2 separate regions of the Homo sapiens genome follow, and region 2 is linked to region 1. The links are contacts of gene promoters, found by promoter capture Hi-C in blood cells and fetal thymus (Javierre and others, 2016). All regions are on one chromosome and are shown on one strand. The core of a region is centred on a gene start or on the middle of the fragment in contact, and the rest is flanking DNA. Distances in the headings are between cores, read along the strand shown. Region 1 holds the start of ADRA2A (adrenoceptor alpha 2A). Region 2 overlaps RBM20 (RNA binding motif protein 20).

Region 1 (4,122 bases), core at 489-2,988:
GGCGCGGCGACGGCGTCCGGACCCCGGCGGCTGGGTGGCACGCGGGTGCGACGCTTGGCGATCTGGTAGATGCGCACGTAGACCAGGATCATGATGAGGCAGGGAGCGAAGAAGGAGCCGATGCACGACGAGATGACGTACCACTTCTGGTCGTTGATCTCGCAGCGCGGCTCGGCCGGCTGCGGGCCGCCGCCGCCGCCCTTCTTCTCGATGGAGATGAGCGGCGGGAAGGAGATGACGGCCGAGATGACCCACACGGTGATGATGATGGCCTTGATGCGGCGCGGCGTGCGCTTCAGGTTGTACTCGATGGCCTGTGTGATGGACCAGTAGCGGTCCAGGCTGATGGCGCACAGGTGCACGATGGACGACGTGCAGAAGAGCACGTCGAGCGCCAGGTAGATCTCGCACCAAGCCTTGCCGAAGTACCAGTAGCCCATGACCTCGTTGGCCAGCGAGAAAGGGATGACGAGCGTGGCCACCAGGATGTCGGCCGAGGCCAGAGACACCAGGAAGAGGTTTTGGGGCGCCTTGAGCGCGCGGCTCGTGAACACGGCGATGATGACGAGCACGTTGCCGAACACGGTGAGCAGCATGAGCAGGCCGGCCAGGCACACCAGCGTCAGCGTCACCTGCAGGGAGTAAGGGGTGGCCCGGGCGCCGCCCCCCGGCGCCTCGGTCCCGTTCCAGCTCGCGTTGCCCGCGTCCGGCTGCAGGGAGCCCATGGGCGCAAAGCTGCCCTCGGCCAACGGCTGCTCCTGGCGGAACATGAACGCGGGCGCCCGCTGGCCTGGGCCTGCTGCCAGCTGCCTTCCGGCCCGGCGCCCGTGGGTCCTCCTCTTCCTCCGGCGCCCCGCTCGCCTGGCTGCGGCTCACATAGGGAGGGGGCCGCAGGGAGGCCGGGCCCGAACTGGAGGACCGCTAGCGGCCCATGGCCCGGGTCCCGCGAACTGCGCCTGGCTCGCGCTTCAGACGCTCTCGGTGGGCGCCTTCTTGCTCCGAGCTCCTAATACAGCCAAGTTTTATTTCTAAGCGGCGGGAGAGAGTAGGGAGAGCCGATGGGTAAAGAGAGATTTATTCTTCAAGAAGGGAGAACAAAAATCATCGGTGGCCTGATAACTTGGAAGGATGACAGGAAATTAAATATATATATACATATCAATATCTGTATCTTGAATCTTGAGCCTGAGCGAAAGCAAGAGGTCTTACCGTGTGCGGGGCCCGCCCCCACCCCGGGAGGCAGCCGAAGGGTGCTGATGCGAGCTCGGGGGTCCTATGTCTGTCGCCTTACATCCCCGAAGCGATTACCGACTCTCTGGCTTCCCCCAGACGCTGCGGTTCTGGCCCGGCCCGGCCCGGGGCTGGGGCGCGGACTCTGCCGCCTCTCGGAGCGCCGCGAGACTTCCAAAGTTGTGCGCCCTGCTGGGGCTGGGGCACACTGTGCGGAGCTCCGGGACGGCGGCGGCGGCGGGGTGAGGAGTGTGGGGGCCGCATGAAGGCACCCCCGTCCTCAGGCGGGCCGGGGCAGGTGAACGATCAGCTCTCCAGGAGCCGCGACGGAGGCAGGGGTTCTCCTGGGCGTCCGCCTGGTGGGCGCCGAGCGCTGCTGGATGGGCCGGGGTCCGACGACAGCGCGAGTTGGGGCAGGAGCGCAAGGCGGGGAAGAAGGCGCTGGAGTGGCCGGGCGGCGGCACGCCGGCTGCTGGGCTTCTGCACCGAGCTGGAGCTGCTGCTGCTCCGCTGCGCTCACGGTGGACTCGTTTTATAGCCCCAGGATCAAGCAAGCGTTGCTGAGCAGCCGGCGTCAGCCCCCACGTGGGAAGCCGACCCTCCCCCGCCCCTCGCACCACCCCTCCGCCAGTCTAGCGCCCGCGCCTAGCGCTGGACCTCGGGGAGCGTTGCCCTCAGGCGGGACGAGCCCTTTGGAGAGGCGGGTACCTTGAGCTAGAGACTTAAAGAGGGAGCCCGGGGGTGGGGGGTAGGGGAGGAGCGGCCCCTGCTGGGAGTTGGCCATGCAGCTCCGGGCCGACGGAGCAGAACGCAACGGGCACCCGTGAGTGCCCCCAAGAAGCTGGATCTTGGGAGAAAAGGGAAGAAAAAAATGGAAGGGAATCCCCGCCCAAATCGAGGGAAGTAACCTCCGGTGTGAGTTACGTCTGGAGCAGCCCAGCTCCGGGCCAGAGCCGACGCGGTCCGCAGGTGCTCCTGGAGGCTGGGGAGAAAGGGGTCCTGGAGAGGGAGGAAGGCGCGGCTTCGGATGGAACCCCTGGGGCGGAATGGACAGCACCCACGGGGAAGTGGTACAAGCCGGAGTTCAGACCTCCGCTTAGGGAAGAAGCGGCTACGTGTCCTCCCAGCCGCGATGCTGTCTGCGGGAAACGCAAGACCCGGGGTCTGGACCGCGCCCCCTTAGACCGAGGTGGGGAGGGGTCCAGGAGCCGAGCGCCAGGGCAAAGCGAGGACGCACTGACACCTGCTGGCCGCTCGTGGTCACGGCTGAGAAGCGACCCGCTGACGCCAGGCGCCTCCTCCCGTCTCTTAGGTCTTCTGCCAACAGAGCCTTCTCCTATCTCCGAACAAATTGGTTTCTAAGCTCAGGAAAGGAGAACCCAGAGTTTGAATTGCACCCTGCCGTGTTGCAGAAATCTTCCTAAAGCAGATACTCGTGTGTCTACCCCTGGCGGGAGTGGGGGTTTGTCTAATAAAGTCACATCAGGAAGGGCTCAGCAGGCACCGCCGGCCAGAACGGGCATCCCACTCTGGACCCGCACAGCCCACCCTTCCTGCAGATCCGAGAGAGGCCAGGATCCTGCCTCCTTGGTTGCACAGCTCTGGCTTGCTGGGAATCATTATGTTTTTGTTGAGGACCGAAAGCTAGACTCCACTCCCGCCCCGCATCCCACCCCCATTCAGATGTACACACAGCATCCTTCAATAAGGGGAAGAGGGAGTAGAATATTTTCCATGTTCTCTCTGATAAGAATAGCGGTGGGGGCGGGGGGGAGTGGGTGTGCGGCGAATGGCAAGTTTTTCCGTGCGTGCTAGCTGTCCTAGGATAGATTTTAACGGTCACTAGAGCACTAGCTTGCACCCTGCTAGCTGCACTTTTCAGATGAGAGCAAGCAGTTTAATGGTAAAACCCAAGAGGGTAGGAAATTTCAGCAGGAGAGAGATTAGACTTAAAGGAATGTCGTCTTATTTAAGGAACCACTAAACCAAAATGCCTTGTGCAGTCACCTAAGTTGGAATTCCAAGGATGGAACAGGCTGCCTCTCTGTGCAGCCAGCTGCAGGCTTAGGTCTGGCTGGGGGCTGATGGCTAAATTAAGGGCCCTGAGAATCACCTTCATTCCCAGCTGATGTCTATAGCCCGCACCAGTGATACAGTTATTGGTGCTGCTGCTGTTCATGTAGTCTCAAAATCTGTACTTTCCAAAGTATTTCACAGAAGTCTCATTTGACTTCAGTACCTTTGTCTCCCAATCTTTGCCCTAATGGTATAAACTCCCTTTCCAGTGTTAGTTCTGAGGAGCCTTTCTAATCTCCCTTTCTGGACAATCTAAAGGAAGCTGAGAAGACAATTTCCTCGCTCTGTTGAGTCACTCATTTTCCATCTTCTACTAAAGTCTCTGCTCTGAGGCTCTTGGCAGGGGCTTTGGACATCGCCAGTAGGCTCAGTTGGAAACATGGCTACAGTCATTTTTGCACAGCAACTAGGAACCCCACACTTCAAGTATGAATACTAAGAGACAAAAATCAGAGCCCGTGGCAATCTGGGGTTTGCTGTGTTGCTGTTTGTAGAACTCGGGAACTGAGTCTTAGGAGACCATCACTTACCATCTGCACCCCAGCTTCCAACACACTGCTCTTCTTCCTAATTTCAGAATCAAAAGAGGAAATAAAAACAAAGTTTACAGTAATTATCTTTCTTGAAATTTCTGCTGCTAGCCTGTGTATGACACCTCTTGTCATATTTTCTAAATGCTTCCCAAACAGCCAGGTGGTTTCTTAATTCCCTGATTTGGAGTCTTTTCTCCTAAAATGGGAACAGGTCTTTTCAGAGCCAGGAACCCTGAGGCCAATACACAACGAATACCAATAATAACAAGTGCTGCATTTTATT
Region 2 (4,122 bases), core at 920-3,419, 360 kb after region 1:
TCTCGAACTCCTGACCTCACGTGATCTGCCTGCCTCGACCTCCCAAAGTGCTGGGATTACAGGCTTGAACCAATGCTCCCAGGCAATAAATTACATTTTAAAAACCTTTTGGATTACAGATATTATTTTCATCAACATCATTTGGGAAGGCAATCCTTTTTCCCTGGGCCACCCCTCCAACAAGTGACTTGAAGACCAGGAGACAATTCAAGCCAGCTGGAGCCTCCACCCTGAGCTGCTGGGTCTCCAACCAGGTCAACTACTAGGGAAGGATTCTTCTTGGAAGATGGACCATGTTGCCCCTTCTCAACAATTCTAAGGGGCTGAGGACAACCAGGAAGGACTGCCTCACCTGGTACTCTATCTGCTGCTCCTACTGGTGACTCCTGTTGGGCATGGGCCACCCACAGCTCCCAGAGGCTGTTCCTGCTCTCTTGGGGCAGCAGCTCCTCCTGACAGCTGACAGCAGCTGCTCTCATCAGCAGGTCTCTCAGCAAGTTCTAGAAGCAGAAGTTGCTGCTGTCAAGTAATGGGATCTTCTAGGAGTACCTTGGGTTGGAAGCTCTTGGGTCCTCATTGTCTGGCCCTTCTAGCAGTTCCTAGGAGCCTAGATGGTCAGGTGGTCAGCTCAGTATGACTACAACCACTGCAGAGCACAGCTTCAGACAGGCCAGTGCTAAGCCAGCTTTATTTGTTGCAGCAATGGTACTAGAGACATCTGCCAAACAATACTCCTTTACACAACCTTTTCATTGACCTCCAAGAACTGCAGATATGGTTACATTTCTAGCTACCCAGCATGGGCAAGACCCAGGTTCATGAGGCTCTTGAGTCAGGGAACACTCTTTTCTTTCTTAAGAGGGTCTCCTACCATTCCCTAATCCCAACTATGCCAAGGCTCAAGTGTCTACTCAGGAGGCTTAGCATGTCCCAAAGTCCTCTTCCCATAGCCCATCTTCAGAATCAGGAGCACTGCCATGACTGTAACTCCAGGCACAGATCTGCTTAGCCAGGTCCTCACAGGAGATGGGTAAGCTTCATTCTAATAACATTCCTGGGTGATGATCCTTTGGGCCATGTATCTTCTAGGGATTAATACATCTGAATATTATCAGTCTTCACAATGAAGTATTTCTTACTGTTCCCAACTAGCCCAAAAACGTAGTCCTTAGTAGGCTGGAAAACGCACTGGCACAGGGATAAGGAGCCCGGGATTGTGGTTCCAGACTTGCCACTTACTAGCTGGGAAACCTGAAAAAAATAATCCCCTCTCTAAGCTTCCATTTCTTTATCCATAAATTGAGGTCAGATGTGCTCTACCTACTTTAGGGAATGGTTGCGAGGCTGACATTAAATTGATGAATGTGAGTCTCTTTCAAAACACTGTACAAATGCTGAGTAGAATTTGTCCATTTATTCTTTAATTTGCCAGTAATGCATATATTTAGATAATAAAAAATTCCTCAGCAATGCCCTAAAAACCCAGTTGCAGTACTGAATTATTAAATGACTACTCTGCCCCTGTAGCGTGCAAAGTGTCATAAGGGACACAGGAGATTTAGGGCCTCATCTTTGTTCCCTAGTGATTTATCCTAGTCAGGGTTATAATCGTATTGCACCTAAAATGAGAGTGGAGAGGACTCAGGATATCACTCAAGCCATGTTCCTTACTTAACAGCAAGGAAACTGAGGCCAGGAAAGATTATCTAATAACCAGCAACAGTTATAATACTAGCTAAGCCTAGTGCACGTTACTCTGTGTAGCAGACTTGTTTAGGACCACACAGCAGATCTGTGGCCACGCCAGACCTGGAATCCTAGTGATGGCTCTTTGGCCAGGTTTCTTTCCATATATTTTCCATAAAAATCCACTTCTCTGCATCTGCCCCGTTAGTCAAGCCTGTATGTATGTCAATGACTTATCTTCTGTGATTCTCACACTAAAAGCCCTAAAGAGCAGGGAGAATAGAGCAAGCACTGAGGGAGTGGACAGAACAAAAGAAGCATCACAAGAGGTATTCTGGGGGAAACTGAGGCAGTCAAAGAGGAAGGAAAAGACACTTTACAAATATGGACGCCAAAGTTAGGGGTGACCCAGGATGACGGCAACCATTTTAAGATACTCTACAGAGGGTGTAATAGATGTGTTGGGGAATCACAGAAAAGAGCAAAAACAGTTTATGCCAAACAGATTATATAGTGGAGTCCAGGTGATTAAGTACACACTCATGACATAACTGAAAGGTAATTATTGGGGTCTCTAGATCAGTTTTTTGGGGGCAGGGCACAGAATCTTGTTCTGACACCCAGGCTGGAGTGCAGTGGTGCGATCTCAGCTCACTGCAATCTCTGCTTCCCAGGTTCAAGCGATTCTCCTGCCTCAGCCTCCCGAGTAGCTGGGATTAAAGGCAGGCACTGCCACGCCCTGCTAATTTTTGTATTTTTGGTAGAGATGGGGTTTCACCATTTTGGCCAGGCTGGTCTCAAACTCCTGACCTCAAGTGATCCACCCGCCTTGGCCTCCCAAAATGCTGGGATTACAGGGGTGAGCCACCGCACCCAGCCTCTAGATCAGTTTTTATTGGCCTCAATCAATAAAGATTGAAATATTCTAGCCAACCTCCTCATGTCATGCTCAGACTATGGCAGTAGCTATTAAATTGCAGTAGCTTTTAATTTTAAAAGAATCATCTCTGTTCACAATGATTACTACTGATACCACCACTATTATTGCTACTGCTATACACAACCACACAATCAAACATACACAATATCTTAGGGATGACAAAAATGAGGGCCAGAGCTGGCATATGACTTACCTGAAAACCATACATGAACTCACAATTAACTAACTGTAACTGAGCACCTTGTTTGGTCTGATGCATCATTTCCTACTGAAGAATGACACAAAATAATATAAAACATGATCTTAATTAAAATATATGATAATTCAATTGGAGAAAAAAGAAAATAAAATGCTACTTCCATACTTGGATCTTATCACTTCTTACTATTACTGATTCTAATAAGAAATTACCATTACTAATGTGAATAAGCTTCCTGAATCTGAAACAATGCTAGCACTTTCCCACTGTAGATCAACAACACATTACCTTACAATATTAAATGAGTAACAACAATAAACAGAGGTGAGGGACAGAGAAAAAAAAAGGATACAATCCCTGTGTAGGAATTCAGAATCCTAGTGGGTAGGAAGAGAGCACATTTGCAAAACCCTGAAGTCCTGTTTTCCTAGTACCTAGCATTGTACGCAGATGATACTAAGCATTGTGGGATAAATGCATGAATAAATCAATAATTCTTCTGGATCAGACTGATAGATAAAGGAGGCTGGCTTATGCGGCAGTCTCAGTTCACAGAGTACAAACATAGAATGCCTTCGTTTTTTACATAACTACCCCATCTGGGCAATGTCAACCCCTTCTCTGACTTTCCCCATTAGTGGGGACTTCCTTAAAGTCATCCGTTGACTTTTCAGTCACTTGCAATTATCCAGTCTCATTTAGATTTCTAAGACTCAGCTCAGTTCATTTCAAAACTTCAGTCTCATAGCTGATTCCACATTCTTTTTGTCCCCTCCTCCCAGCCAGGCAAGAGCTATTGCAGTGGTGGTAGCTTGGGGTAAAGGTGGCAGTGGCCTGTCCTTCCCACACCTCCCCTCTCCTGGACTCTTTTTTTTTTTTTTTTTTTTTTTTTTTTGAGATGGAGTCTCACTCTGTCTCCCAGGCTGGAGTGAAGTGGCACAGTCTCAGCTCACTGCAGCCTCCGCCTCCCAGGTTCAAGCAATTCTCCTATCTCAGCCTCCCGAGCAGCTGGGATTACAGGTGCCCACCACCACGCCCAGCTAATTTTTGTATTTTTAGTAGAGACGGGATTTCACCATGTTAGCCAGGCTGGTTTTCCTGGCCTCTTTCCTGCACCACTGGATAGGGGTGGCCACAATCGCCCGGCTGGAGTCTAATCACACACGCACCCCACAAGTCCTCCATGGTCTTGGGCTGGGGGACAGTAACAAGAGCCTCCTCCCAAACCACTCCTCTAGATGACCCTGGAGAAATCCGGATTCCCTTCTAGGGGTGTGTCTCATGACAACCTCCACAT

Evidence for each region. The method cuts DNA at HindIII sites, captures the fragments that hold promoters and counts their contacts. A CHiCAGO score of 5 or more calls a contact.
Region 2: a contact is called between a fragment that was not itself captured here and the fragment with the promoter of ADRA2A in region 1, in 3 of 17 cell types (neutrophils, total CD8 T cells and non-activated CD4 T cells). The highest score is 5.7, in neutrophils.

What each region holds. Positions count from the first base shown.
Region 1 is chr10:111,074,645-111,078,766 of GRCh38, reverse strand. ADRA2A (adrenoceptor alpha 2A) reads right to left here and starts at 1,738. Exons shown (of 1, transcript NM_000681.4): 1 at 1-1,738. The coding sequence starts at 770. RefSeq lists a silencer at 1,726-1,775. The HindIII fragment of the contact is 6,739 bases long and covers 1-4,122 here.
Region 2 is chr10:110,710,928-110,715,049 of GRCh38, reverse strand. The region is part of intron 1 of RBM20 (RNA binding motif protein 20); the gene reads right to left. Among named protein-coding and RNA genes, the nearest start is that of RBM20, 69 kb to the right of the region's middle. The HindIII fragment of the contact is 1,779 bases long and covers 1,280-3,058 here.